Regions from separate parts of the Homo sapiens genome. Here region 1 is linked to region 2. Evidence: promoter capture Hi-C in 16 types of primary human blood cells and fetal thymus (Javierre and others, 2016). All regions are on one chromosome and are shown on one strand. Each heading gives the region's core, a stretch centred on a gene start or on the middle of the fragment in contact. The rest is flanking DNA. Distances are from core to core; before and after follow the strand shown. Region 1 overlaps MMADHC (metabolism of cobalamin associated D). Region 2 holds the start of LYPD6B (LY6/PLAUR domain containing 6B).

What was found. The method cuts DNA at HindIII sites, captures the fragments that hold promoters and counts their contacts. A CHiCAGO score of 5 or more calls a contact.
Region 1: a contact is called between a fragment that was not itself captured here and the fragment with the promoter of LYPD6B in region 2, in 2 of 17 cell types (M2 macrophages and monocytes). The highest score is 6.6, in M2 macrophages.

Annotation. Positions count from the first base shown.
Region 1 is chr2:149,578,961-149,585,578 of GRCh38, forward strand. It overlaps MMADHC (metabolism of cobalamin associated D), which reads right to left. Exons shown (of 8, transcript NM_015702.3): 3 at 3,167-3,311; 4 at 471-688. Among named protein-coding and RNA genes, the nearest start is that of MMADHC-DT, 5.1 kb to the right of the region's middle. The HindIII fragment of the contact is 2,567 bases long and covers 81-2,647 here.
Region 2 is chr2:149,034,384-149,040,456 of GRCh38, forward strand. LYPD6B (LY6/PLAUR domain containing 6B) reads left to right here and starts at 4,316. Exons shown (of 7, transcript NM_177964.5): 1 at 4,316-4,418. RefSeq lists enhancers at 3,386-3,445, 4,659-4,708, 4,749-4,808 and silencers at 4,069-4,408, 4,419-4,578. The HindIII fragment of the contact is 3,848 bases long and covers 3,611-6,073 here.

The DNA of each region.
Region 1 (6,618 bases), core at 114-2,613, 540 kb after region 2:
AAAAATAAACTTATGAAACTGGTTCCTTTTTTTTTTTTTTACTATATCTGAACAATTTCAGAGATCTCAAATTTTTCTTAAGCTTTTAAATGGCTAGAGGAATACAGAACCAGTTGGAATTAGATCCATATACAAATTTAATTGCCATTTATTAAAAATGAAAAACAGGGAACCTAAATTTCCAGTCTACAGATGTAATTACATTATGTATATCTAGAGTAGTTACTTAAAAACATACTTTTCAAGAAATATTTTAAAAATATTATAATCTACAGTAAAAAAATTATATAGCAAACACTTTGTAGAGGACAATGCCAAGTTTTCCAAAGCTATATATGCTGTTTTTGTATATACATGTACTGGAATTAAATTGATTTTTTACTTTTTCAACAAAAGTAATATGCTTATAATAATCAAGTCATATAGCATTAATAATCAGGAAAGCACAATAAATGTTACCAACAATTTACCTGAAATTCATTCACATATTGTGCCATCACAAACTCATGTCTTTCACTTGATAAAGGTTCTGCTAGAACATCAGGCAAAGTTTTATGAACCAGGCTTTTCTTCTGTGAAGCAGTCCCATTGAGGTGACAATCAAAACCTATGTTCCCAGGAAGCTGGAACCTCTGATCTTGAGGTCCAAAGGGTCCCATAGTTTCATCAGGCCACACTGTTCGAGAGCCTGAAGAGAAACAACAAAAGGAACAGTTTCTCCTTAATAGTCAAGTATATTGGTAGACTGAAAGAATGCTCTTCTTAAAATTATGTATATTTTTATCTAAAAGATCTTCAAAATCTGCTTTCCCATGTGAATATAAATAGTTTCCTATTGTTTCCAAAACACTAATCAAAGCAACTGATTGACAGATCACAGGCAAGTCCGTTATTAGGGGAAAGACTGAATAAAATACTCTAATCCATACTAAGAAATGCTTGAATGTCATTAAAAAGAAGACAATAAACCTTTACATACTGACACTGAATGAAATCCAGGATACAATGCGTTAAAAGAAAAAGCTAAGTCAAAGAACAGCATGTATAATAACATTTATTTACATCCCCATATTCACGTATTGTTTTGTTTTTGAGACGGGTCTCTTGCAGTACAGTGGTGTGATCGCAGCTCACTGAAGCCTTGACCTCTGAGGTCCACCTCAGCCTCCCAAGTAGCTGGGATCACTGGTGCACACCACTATGCCCAGCTAATTTTGTTTATTTTTGGTAGACACAAGGTCTCCTCCTCCCTCAGCCTCCCAAAGTGCTGGGATTACAGTCATGAGCCACTGTGCCAGGCCCATGTTTTTAAGTAAAGAGAAGATCTAAAATGAAACTTAGTAATGGTCGTCTGGGGAGGGGCATTCTGCTGCTGTTATCTGGTGGCACAAAATACGAACGGGAAAAAAAATCATGCATCACATGACCTAATGCTCTGTTTACCAGCCACATGAGTTAATATGGATTGCAAATATAGAACAGACCACATTACTTTATTCACTTAAAACTTTAAAAAAAATCCTAACTTATAAAAAATTCAGAAAGATTCAGAAAAGAATAAAGTAGAAAATTAAACTAATAATTACTCAGAGTAGAGATCTGGGCTTAGAGAAACAGAGGGACAACTGCTATGCATATTACTTAGCAATAAAAATAGATATTTAAAAATATCCTGTCAGAGAACTAAGTAACTGAGAATGGCCATGTCAGCATGGCTGTCTCATTCCTGGATCATGAGCCACCATATCCCTCTTCCACACTTAGGACATACATCACCCATCAATCATGGAACCATTTCCTGCTGAACCCAGACAACGTCTCAAGATTCTCAACATAAACACTCTAGTCCAGTGCCCCTCAAACTCTAAAGATGTACTTAAGATACATCTGGGATCTAGTTTAAATGCAGATTCTGATTTAATAGGTCTGGAGTGGGGCTCAAGATTTTGTATTTCTAACAAGCTCCTAAATGATACTGATGCAGATCATGTTGAATAACAAGGCTCTATCTAGACAGCCACTAATGACTACTCAAGTCACTTCCCAAGAGAAAACCTGTTAGCTATTTTTGAACAAGATGGTTTTTAAAAGTCTAACAATCCCTAGATTCTCTTTACAGAAAACAAGCATCCCATATTAATAGTAGATTTGGGCAGTGGATTTGACCATATGTTTACTGGTCATTTTAGGTTTTGTTTTCTGTGAAAGGCCTATTCATGTCCTTTTGTTTTCTGATTTTCTGTTGGGTTATCTTTTCCTATTGATCTATTATAAATTCTTTATATATTCCAGATACTAACATCTTATATAATTTGAATGGCAAAATCTTTCATTTATTATAAATATATGGTTAGTCTTTAGGTGATGTAAATTGGGGAGTAGTCAGAGAGTTAGAAAACTTGGGCAGGATGGAAGGCTCTGAATGCTCAAGTGAACTTAAATTACGTTGTAAGTAATGTGTGCCATGAAAAAAGGATTCCATGTCCAATATCTTTAGGACACATTAGGTTAAGTTTCTAAGAGTCTTTAATATTTTAGTGTGCCTTATAAGCCTCCAAGGCAGGAATATGGCATGTAGCATTTCTCAAACTTACCTACCACAGAGACTATCCCCCTACCCCCACTTTTTCTTTTTAACCTTGAACAAAGCTTCATGGCTTGAAGGTAGTCTGGGAACTACTGCTGAAAGCAATGAAAGATAACAGGTTTTTCAAGAAAGGGACATGGTTAAAATAATTTAGAATGATTAGCATGGTAGTGGTGTACCAAACAGGTTAGAAGAAACAGACTTTGTAGAAAGCAGGTAAGTTCAATAAACACTAACACATAAAAAGTACAAGGTACATTTATGAAATCTAGCAAAGAATGGGAAGAAATAATAATATGGTTTAACAGGACCAAAAGGAGATTTGTTTCAGGGAAGACTCTATGTTTGAAGACAGAAAGAAAAGTTTAAGAAGTAAGCTTTAGAAACCAGTACTTACTCTTTTTTCAATACTGTAGCTTTCTGACATAAATATATTTAGGCAGAGCTGTGATTCATTTTCAACTGAACAAACACAACTTTAGAAAAATCCATTAAGCCTTAAGAAGAAATATTAGAGGAAAATACAACTAAAAATGTTTTGAAACAATTATAAGTAAAGCAGTAACAACTTTCACTTACATATATCTGGAGGTGCAGCAGCCACATGAGACTCATCCGAACCTGATGATCCTGCAGTCGAAAAGGCTTTGGGATTGACAACCCTTTTAACTAAAGAGCAAAATCCTGGGAGATAGGAAACCAGTCTGGCTCTGTTACAAAGCACCTAGAAATGACACAAAATTAAAACTATTTGTTCTGAATATAAATGTTATACTTACATAGACAATCTCTGGCAAATCTTCACACTGCAAGGTTCTTTTAAAACCAACATTTATTCTACTTTTACTGAACACCTACTATATGAAAGCATTATATATATTTGTAATTTTAAAAATAAAAATAAAAATTAAAAAAACAAGTAATAAGTTAGTTTGGGTAAAAGCCTATGTACTTTTCAATAAAGGCTAGAATTCAAGAGTGCCACACATGAGAGAATAGACATCTAAAAGTTGTCTTATTTAGACACAACACTAAAAAGGTAGCACAACTAACAAGATTCTTCTATCCTCAATAAAGAACTCTCAAGACATCTCTTTGGACCAAAATCTGTTACTTTCGAACTTTTCTCTCTTCTTTTACTGCTATAAATTGCGCTAATTCTCTCCCATACTGTCCTTTCATTGTGGTTTCATGGCAATGTCTGCTTTTCTCCATTTCAGCACGTATCTTTGTGGTATATTTTTTTCTGCTTATATGTTCACTTACTAGACAGTGAGGTCATGTATTACAATGGATGAATGTGTAAATATCTTTCATTCATAAATTTTTTAACAATCTTTCATTCATAAATTTTTTAACAAAGTACTTGGGTCAGAACAATTTAATGCAGGGATTGGCGAACGATTTCCCAATACAGCCCACTGTTTTGGTAAATAAAGTTTTACTGTAACATAGACATACTAATTTATGTACTGCCTATGGTCACTTTCCCACGACAATGGCAGAGTTAAGTAGTTACAAGAGATATTCTGTGGCCCACAAAGCCTAAAATATGCACTATCCGGATATTTGTATTAAAAACACACATACACACAGACATTGGCAACTCTCAGTTTAGTGAAAAAGATGTAAAAACAAATATCAAATCATCTGTGAAATGCTATGAAAAGATCTGAATAATTGTTAAGAAATCCTTGGGAGAAAAGGTAATAAATTTCATGGAGGATATACTAAATTTTGAATACAGTAAAAATTTGCTTGGGAAAAGGTGCATTTCAATGAGTGACTTTCAGGAACAAAGGAATAAAGACATATTTCAAAGAGTGACAAATTCAGTGAGGGTAGGTATAAGAATGCAATTAAAAAAAGGTTTGAAATTGAACTTATGGGCAACTATAAAAGACTGTATATTTGACACAGATGGTAAAGGGCTTGTTACATCAAGATAGTAAGTCGGAATTTTAATTTGTAGGCAGGAAAGAGTCAGAGCAAACTGACAAAAACAAAGGCTGTTTTAAGAAATGTACCACTAAGGGCAGTATAAAAAATGGACTGGAGGAGGAGTAGAGAGGTGGTGTGAAAATCAGTTACCAGGATGTTGGAAAAATCCAGCCATCTGACACCTGAGAATTATTCTATTTCCTTTTCACAAAGTACAGTATTCTAATATCCAACCTATTTTTTCCTTCCTCCTTTGTCACTATGAGTGCATCTTAACTGGTCTTTTTGCCTTTCTGACATAATTTCCTACAAATTTACCCTCCCTTCCCTTACTCTACTTTTCAATTACATAAAAATATCTCCCCAACATTTCCCATTTCTCTTCATTCTTTATACTGCCATAAGAATTCTTCTGCTAAAAGATACTGTTTCCTTATCGTTCTAGAAAATTCTAGCAAATTCTTACTTTTTCTTTAAGACCTGGATAAATATAACCTCCTTTGTGATACGTGTCTCCAAAGCATTCTGTCAACCTGAAAATTTAGGCTGCCTCTCTTGGGGTCTGTACCCAACTTGCCCAAAGAAACAAAAATGGTAATTATTTGGCTTTTTACTTACTAAACAAACTCAGACTTTTGGGTGTTTATATAATACAAATTTACCTTTACAACTAAGGATATTTAAGAGAATGCCTCAGGATCTAAAGGAATCTAAAATTTCAAATTCCAAAAATATTTTCAGCAAGGGCTCAAAATAAGCAGCAGCAAAATAAAAGATTATCTGAAGGGGCCAATATTTGAGAGCATGTAATAGTAATAATCAATGTTGGACACTATGGGTCCAAGTTCTATAGTAAGTGCTGTACATATACATTGTTTTATTTAATTTTCATAACAATTCTATATACTGTTATTAGAACTAGTTTCAGCATGGTTAAACTACAATCTGCGATCATTCACATCGTTTCACAAGCAAAAAACAGAAGGAGGAGGAAGATCATCCAAATTATTTCAAAAATCGCCTATTATTTATTATTTTAGCCTGTCTATCAAGGCCATTAGATTATATTTTGACATTCTTTTCTTGGTGATAGAACTTTTAACAAAAGTTATATAATAAAATATGAGTTTTGTTCCTAGCCTAAGAAAATCCAATTACCAAATTTCATTTTAATAGCAAAATAAACCAGTATCTAAATTGCCCACTGAAAGCGACAGTTGATGATAGTACTAATCTGTTTCAAACCTTACCCGTTAACCTGTGAGATTCTCAAATCTTGGCTGGGTGCAGTGGCTCATGCCTGTAATCCCAGCACTTAGGGAGGCGAAGGTGGGTGGATTACCTGAGGTCTAGCCTGGCCAACATGGTGAAACCCCGTTTCTACTAAAAATACAAAAAAAGCCAATTAGCCGGGCATCGTGGCAAGTGCCTATAATCCCAGCTACTTAGGAGGCTGAGGCAGGAGAATTACTTGAACCCAGGAGCCAGGATTTCAGTGAGCAGAGATCCCGCCATTGCACTCCGGCCTGGGAAACAAGAGTGAAACTCCGTCTCAAAAAAAAAAAAAAGAAAAAAGAAAAAAAAGAAGAAAAACAAATCTGTAATTGTAATTGTGGAAGTGGAATATTTTCTGACAACTTGACAGATTTTATGACTGGTTCAGCTGGTGAACATAATTAAAAATAATAGCCAAAAAGCAAGTCAAAATTACAGCAGAGAGTTCATTCTAGTTTGAGGAAAAGCATTTATTTTATATATGATTAAATTCAAACTTCTAGACTTGGGAAGATGACATGCTATTATGTTTTAACTGTAAAATCCTTATTAGTATATAAAGAGAAAGTGCCTTTTGTGCACTGCCTTAGGACTAAGTTCTGCTTTTGATCATGTGAGGAAAAAATATGGTCTGTACAAAAACTAAAAACTGGTAGTTTATGTAGTGCATCCACATCTATCCAGACATTTTTGTGCATCCCACAGTGTTGCAAGATATTTGAATTAAATACAAACATTGAGAAATCGCAATATTTACACAAAAGGTCCAGAAATTTGGCTCTTCTTGAAAACTCAGAAGATCTGGCAGTATTGGA
Region 2 (6,073 bases), core at 3,066-5,565:
TCCTAAGAGAAGCCCGATTTTGTTTTCAGAGTGCTCCTTGTGTGAACTGGGGTTGTGGGAAGGAGTGACATTTCCCTTCCTTTGTTCAGACGGGGTGAAGACTTAACTTACAGGTAAGGGAGGCCCTTGACTGACGTGGGGTGGGAACTGTTTCGAGCTGTCCTTATCTCTGGGCCTGTTTCCTGACCTGTGAGATGGGCCTGTTTCCTGACCCGTGAAATGAGAAGGTTGGGTGGGATCAGTTTCCCAGGCTTGCCTGTGGTGAGTAGCCCCCGGAGTGCTCATTCAAAAGCCACTCTGCTCTCCCGAATGAGAATGTTTAGGAGTGAACTCTGTCATGAGCAGGCATCCAAGTGATCCTCCCCTTCAAGGATGTTTGGGAATGGTGGTCTGCACAGTCTCTAACAGATCTTCCAACTCCAAAACTCCTGTCCCGGCTATGTCTGGAAGGCAGTGACTCCTAACTATTCCTGAGACCCAAATGGCTTTGCAAGTCTTACAACAGCTGTGGATGTTCTGTTTAGTAAAAACGTATACAGACACAGAACTTCAAATTCAGTTGCAGGGTCTGTGGCTTTTGATTAAGAATTCCTACTTTAAGGTTAACCCTTGAAAGAGAATGTAAGCATTCACTTGAGCCAGGCATGAAGCAGCTGCTCACTAAAGGTCAGTTATTATGCTATTTCTGTGTCTCAGCTTTTCTATGAAATTCTCATATTGTTGTCTCATTGTATAGGTGAGGACACTGAGGCATAGAGAGATTAACATGCATTGTAAGTTGTGGCTGAATTTGAACTCAAACAGTCTGATTCCAGAGCCAGTGTGAACTTAAAATCTGGGCTGCCTGATAAAGTGGTTATCAGTTTTGCCTACTTGAATTCATGGCACTTTCTGCTCCTAATATTTCTGGCCACTTCCCTATACCTCCTTATATTAGTCATAATTAAGTAAGCAGCTACTATGGTATGAGGCCACCACTTCTCCTGTTGTCCTTCCCAGTTTCTCCCCAACCTCCCCTTTTCCCTAGTTTATAAGACAGGAGAAAAGGGAGAAAGCAAAAAGTTGGAAAGAAACAGAAGTAAGATAAATAGCTAGACGACCTTGGCACCACCACCTGGCCCTGGTGGTTAAAATAATAATAATATTAACCCCTGACCAAAACTACTGGTGTTATCTGTAAATTCCAGATGTTGTATGAGAAAGCACTGTAAAACTTTTTGTTCTGTTAGCTGATGTATGTAGCCCCCAGTTACGTTCCTCACGCTTACTTGATCTATTATGACTTTTTCATGTAGACCCCTTAGAGTTGTAAGCCCTTAAAAGGGCCAGGAATTTCTTTTTCGGGGAGCTCGGCTCTTAAGACATGAGTCTGCCGATGCTCCTGGCCAAATAAAAAAAACTCTTCCTTCTTTAATCTGGTGTCTGAGGAGTTTTCTCTGCGACTCGTCCTGCTACACTACTATGTGCCAGGAATGCTACACACATTGTCTCATTGAAAAATGTCCTCAGAAAATGATATACAGTATTTTTTATTTTATTTTATTTTTTTTGAGATGGAGTTTCACTGTTGTGGTCCAGGCTGGAGTGCAATGGCAGGATCTCGGCTCACTGCAACCTCTGCCTCCTGGGTTCAAGCAATTCTCCTGCCTCAGCCTCCCAAGTAACTGGGATTACAGGTGCCCGTCACCACGCCCGGCTAGATATACATTATTAATATACATGTTGAGTCCTAAGTAAAGACAGGAAAAATTAGGAAGGTAAATATATCCTAAGGCTCAGAAGTTTTTTGGATTGTTGCTTCTTTGGATAATTTATATTTCATTATATTATCAGAGAACTAGAGATAGAGCAGAAACTGAAGATTTTCTAGTTCAAATATCATTCTCCTAGAGACCAGTAGAGAATAGCAATAAATAGTTATTTGTAAAGATTAATTAATTCATTCTAGAGTCTTATGAAGTCTATCAGTGGTTTTGTCCCTATTTCCAGCATTTTAATGTTGATCAGAAGTGGGCTGGCTCTCTTTGCACTGCTAGGCAGAGCTACTGTTCACTGAGCAGGTGCTTTGTGCTGGCGCTGTGCTCAAGCACTTTACGTGGATTATTTAACTTAGCCACACAACAGTATCAGAACTTCTTATTTCAGATACCCCTTTTAAGCAAAAAACTTCAAACAGAGATCTTGTCTGATTTCATGGCTGCACATTTTCCAAGTAGGAAAAACACACAATTGAGGAACATGCCCAAGGCTGCTCAGCAAGCACAGGAGAGAGAGTGGGGTGGGGAGGGAGAGATCACGTGCAAGCAAGCAAGCACTGGGGCAGAACCTGTACCCTCCTGATGATTCTCAGGCCTGTCTGGGTGGCATCACTTAGCAGGCTGGCCCAGCCAAGATCACACGCACAGCAGCAGGATTTTAAATCACAGGGGATCACATGCTCTACTGACTGAAACCAACACAAAAAAAGGTCTAGGTCCATTTCATGTGAGTGAGACCCAGAGGTGCTCCTTTGCTCAGCCCTACCTGCTGGTGCAAGTGGCTGTCCCAAAGTGCAGGCCCCACCACAGCTCCACCCTGGGACACCAGATTCCCTGCCACCATAGAGGGAGTAGCAACTGAGGTAGGGCACACCTAGGTGGGGCATCCCATATAACCTTTTCTAGGTTGGCCTTGCCCAGTGTGACGTAGCCAGCCAGGTAACACCAGATCTGAAATACCCATATGTGCAGAACCCACTGAAGGGGTGGGGTGTCTAGACCTTAAGAGTGTTGGGCTTGTTGTCAGTGGAGGGGTGGAGCAGTCTTCTTGGCCCTGACCTCACCTTAATAGAGATCCTCCCATTTTGGCCTTGGAGGTTTAATATATAGTCACGGAAGTGTACTGAAATAGTCATAAGAAGGAATGTTCTCCATACAACTTTAAAGTTGTACAGTGCTTTCTGCAGTGAAATGAATTTTTTCACGGAATGGATTTTTTTAACGAGTCTTGAAATTAACATGTGAGGAGCAGCATGACACATTACCTCGTGTGTGTGTGTGTGTGTGTGTGTGTGTGTGTGTGTGTGTGTGAGTGAAGGCCATTTGTTAAATGGAACACCTAAAAATACCATTGTTTTTGTTTTTGCGGTTGTCAGGGGCCTCAATAAATGCAAGCTGGCTCAGGAGATGCTTGACCTCAGAGGTCTGGAAAGACAGATTAGAAGTCTCAGCAGAGGACCAAACCCAGACCCCACTTCTGCAGAAGTTCTGTACCCAGGTTTCCCCACTGCAGGCATAACCAGCAGCCCCTCAAAGGCCCCAGACCAGCCAACTGTCTTTAGAAATGCAGACCCAGGATCAGCTTTGCTACCAGCCATGGAATCTTGGGTCAGTGGCCCATACTCTGAGCTGTGTTTCCACAGTGCAAGGCTGGCCGGACAGTGTTTTATTTCAGAGTTCTCCTGTCTGTGGCATCTTCAGAAGTTAAAGATTTGCTTGACCACTATAAGGTGCCCTGGGAGTGTAGACCTCCCACATCCCAGCTGCCTGGCTGGCAGTGGGTGGGGAGTAAGCAGTAGAGAGAGGACAGGTGGCCCGGAATCTAACAGCTTGCCTCTGGATTCTCCCTAGTAAGCTTGGAATGATGCTGGAGCAGCTCTGGGCCGAGGGGACCAGTCTAACGCTGGACGCAAAAGACTGGGCGCCACCTAGTCTGTTCATCAGGTATTAAATGCCCTGAGTTTTCAAAGCTCTGGTGATTCAGTAGTGGACGGGTAAGGTTCCTGCCTCTCCTGGGGCTTACCGTCCAGGGGTGGGGAGGACGTCACTATATGAAATTATCTTATTTATAGCTTAATGTCATTATTTAAAAAGGGGGAGGGAATCACTTGACGGGTGGGCAAGGTGGGGACGGGGTTGGATGGAATGGTCAAAAAAGGTCTTTCAGAGTTCTTCCAATCCTGAACTAACTCACCTGCACCCTTGGCCCAATCATTTTCACTCCCGAGGGTCTGCACTCCTCGTTTCTACATTGGTTTTCTAGGAAGAAAGGGGTTGGACCCTCCCCTCTTTAAGCTGGGTGGGGTCCGAATCCCGTGCTTCTTTCACTTCCTGAGCCGGGCTGGCTGGGTGGGAACAGGCTCCTTGCCGCCTCCCCAGCGCTGGCCACTACCACACTGCCGCCCGCCTGGGCCTCCTTTCAACCTCGTGGTGGAGCCCTGCGGTTTCCCAGCGGAGCCGGGCCCGGGGCTGCTCCCTCGCGGGCGAGGCTCACCTGTCCCGGCCCGGCCCCCTCCCGCGCCCCAGGTGGTTCAGGGCAGGGAGGAGCCGCGCCCCGCCCCGCGCGGTAGCAGCCAACGCCGGCCCCAGGCGGGTGCGCTGGGAGCCTGGGCCGGGAGCCGGGTGAGGGCGCCGAGAGGCTCGGTGGGCGCGGGCGGCGAGGTGAGCTGGGCCAGCGCAGCAGGCGGGGGCGGTGGTGGGTTCGGGACGGCTCACCCCGCGCCGGAGCGAGTGCGGGGCCGCGCGACTGCGGCGGGAGATGCGCTGCGCCCCTTCTGGGCGCGCTGGGGCAGCCAGGAGCTCGCGGGGCCGCGGGGCCGCGGGGCCGCGGGGCCGCGGCGCAGTGGCGGGGTCGGGGTCTGGTCGCTGCCTCGAGGCGAGCAGCTGCCAACATCTGGACGGGACGGGAGCAGGGGGCCGGGGCAAGGCTGGAGCGGTGTGGGTCTCTAATCGTCCAGAGCCCTGCGGGGCCAGTGACTTCGGCAGAGCCGAGGGGAGAGGAGATACTGGGGGTCAAACTGCTGGAGAGAGCGCGGAGCTGGGGCTGGGGTTCAAGGCCGATCGTGGGGCCAAGAGCGAGCGTGCCAGCTCCAGTGTTTCCCCCTGCAGCGCTTCACGCGCGACCAGCTTGGGTGCCGCCGCTTCCCTTGCCCCGGCTCTTTACTTTTGTTGTTGAATAACCTACCTTACACATTGGTTAGTTACCTGGGGCTTCTCAAAAGCCGGGTCTGGAGGCTGCTCTGACTCCAGGGGGCTTGGGTTGTGAGGCTTCAGGTCTGTATGCCCTGTGGCGTTTGGGGGGAGCTGGTGGGTGGAGGGGTGCTGTCCACCTCCCAAGGCCAGGGGATCAGAGAGTGGGAAAAGTCTAGAATGCTATTTAAATTCCAGTAACTAGCTGTGTGACCTTGGGCAAGTTACTGAACTGCTCTGAGCCTCAGTTCCCTTAAAGTAAAATAGGTATTATTAATATTATAATCATTACAACAGACTTAGGTTATATGATGTTCATGGAGTACATAGCATACTGCTTGATTTTTCCCCCTTTGTGTTGATGTGGTGATGTGTGTGTTGTGGGGTGGGGGCATTCTTTCCCACCCTGACTTGTTCATGGTTAGGCTTCCTCCAGGATGCCTTACTTGCTGACAGCATCACAGAGGCCAAGATTAGGGCTGCCAGTGCACGGGCCCTGCAGATGGAGGGGGTGTTGTCAGACTGCCCTCATCATTACCCATCGTATTTGTCAGAATTGTTTTCTTTGGGTTGGGTTTTGGTCACTTGAAAATTGCCTTATACTATGTAGAAATTGATTGGGTCACATAAATGAAAAGGTCGAGGGTTTCAGTTTAAAGCTATAGCTAGTTCCAGAGGCTCATACAAGGTTCCAGGGCTAGTTCTCTCTCTTGTATATCTTAGCTGTTTTTCTCTCTGTGTTTACTGGTTCTTAGTATGGACGATAAATAGGACTTGCACCTTCAGGCTTATCTGCTCCTTCAGAGAGAGAGACAGAGACAAAGAGGGAGAGAGAGAATCCCATCTTCTCTATCCGTATAGCAGTCTCTCTCTGTCTCTCTCTCTCTCTCTCTTTTTTTTTTTTTCTTTTGAGACAGACTCTCACTCTGTCACCCAGGCTGGAGTGCAGTGGTGTGATCTCGGCTCACTGCATGCAACCTCCACCTCCCAGGTCCAAGCGATTATCCTGCCTCAGCCTCCCAAGTAGCTGGAGTTACAGGCGCCGGCCACCACGTGGGACTAATTTTTGTATTTTTAGTGGAGATGAGGTTTCACCATGTTGGCCAGGCTGGTCTCGAACTCCTAAC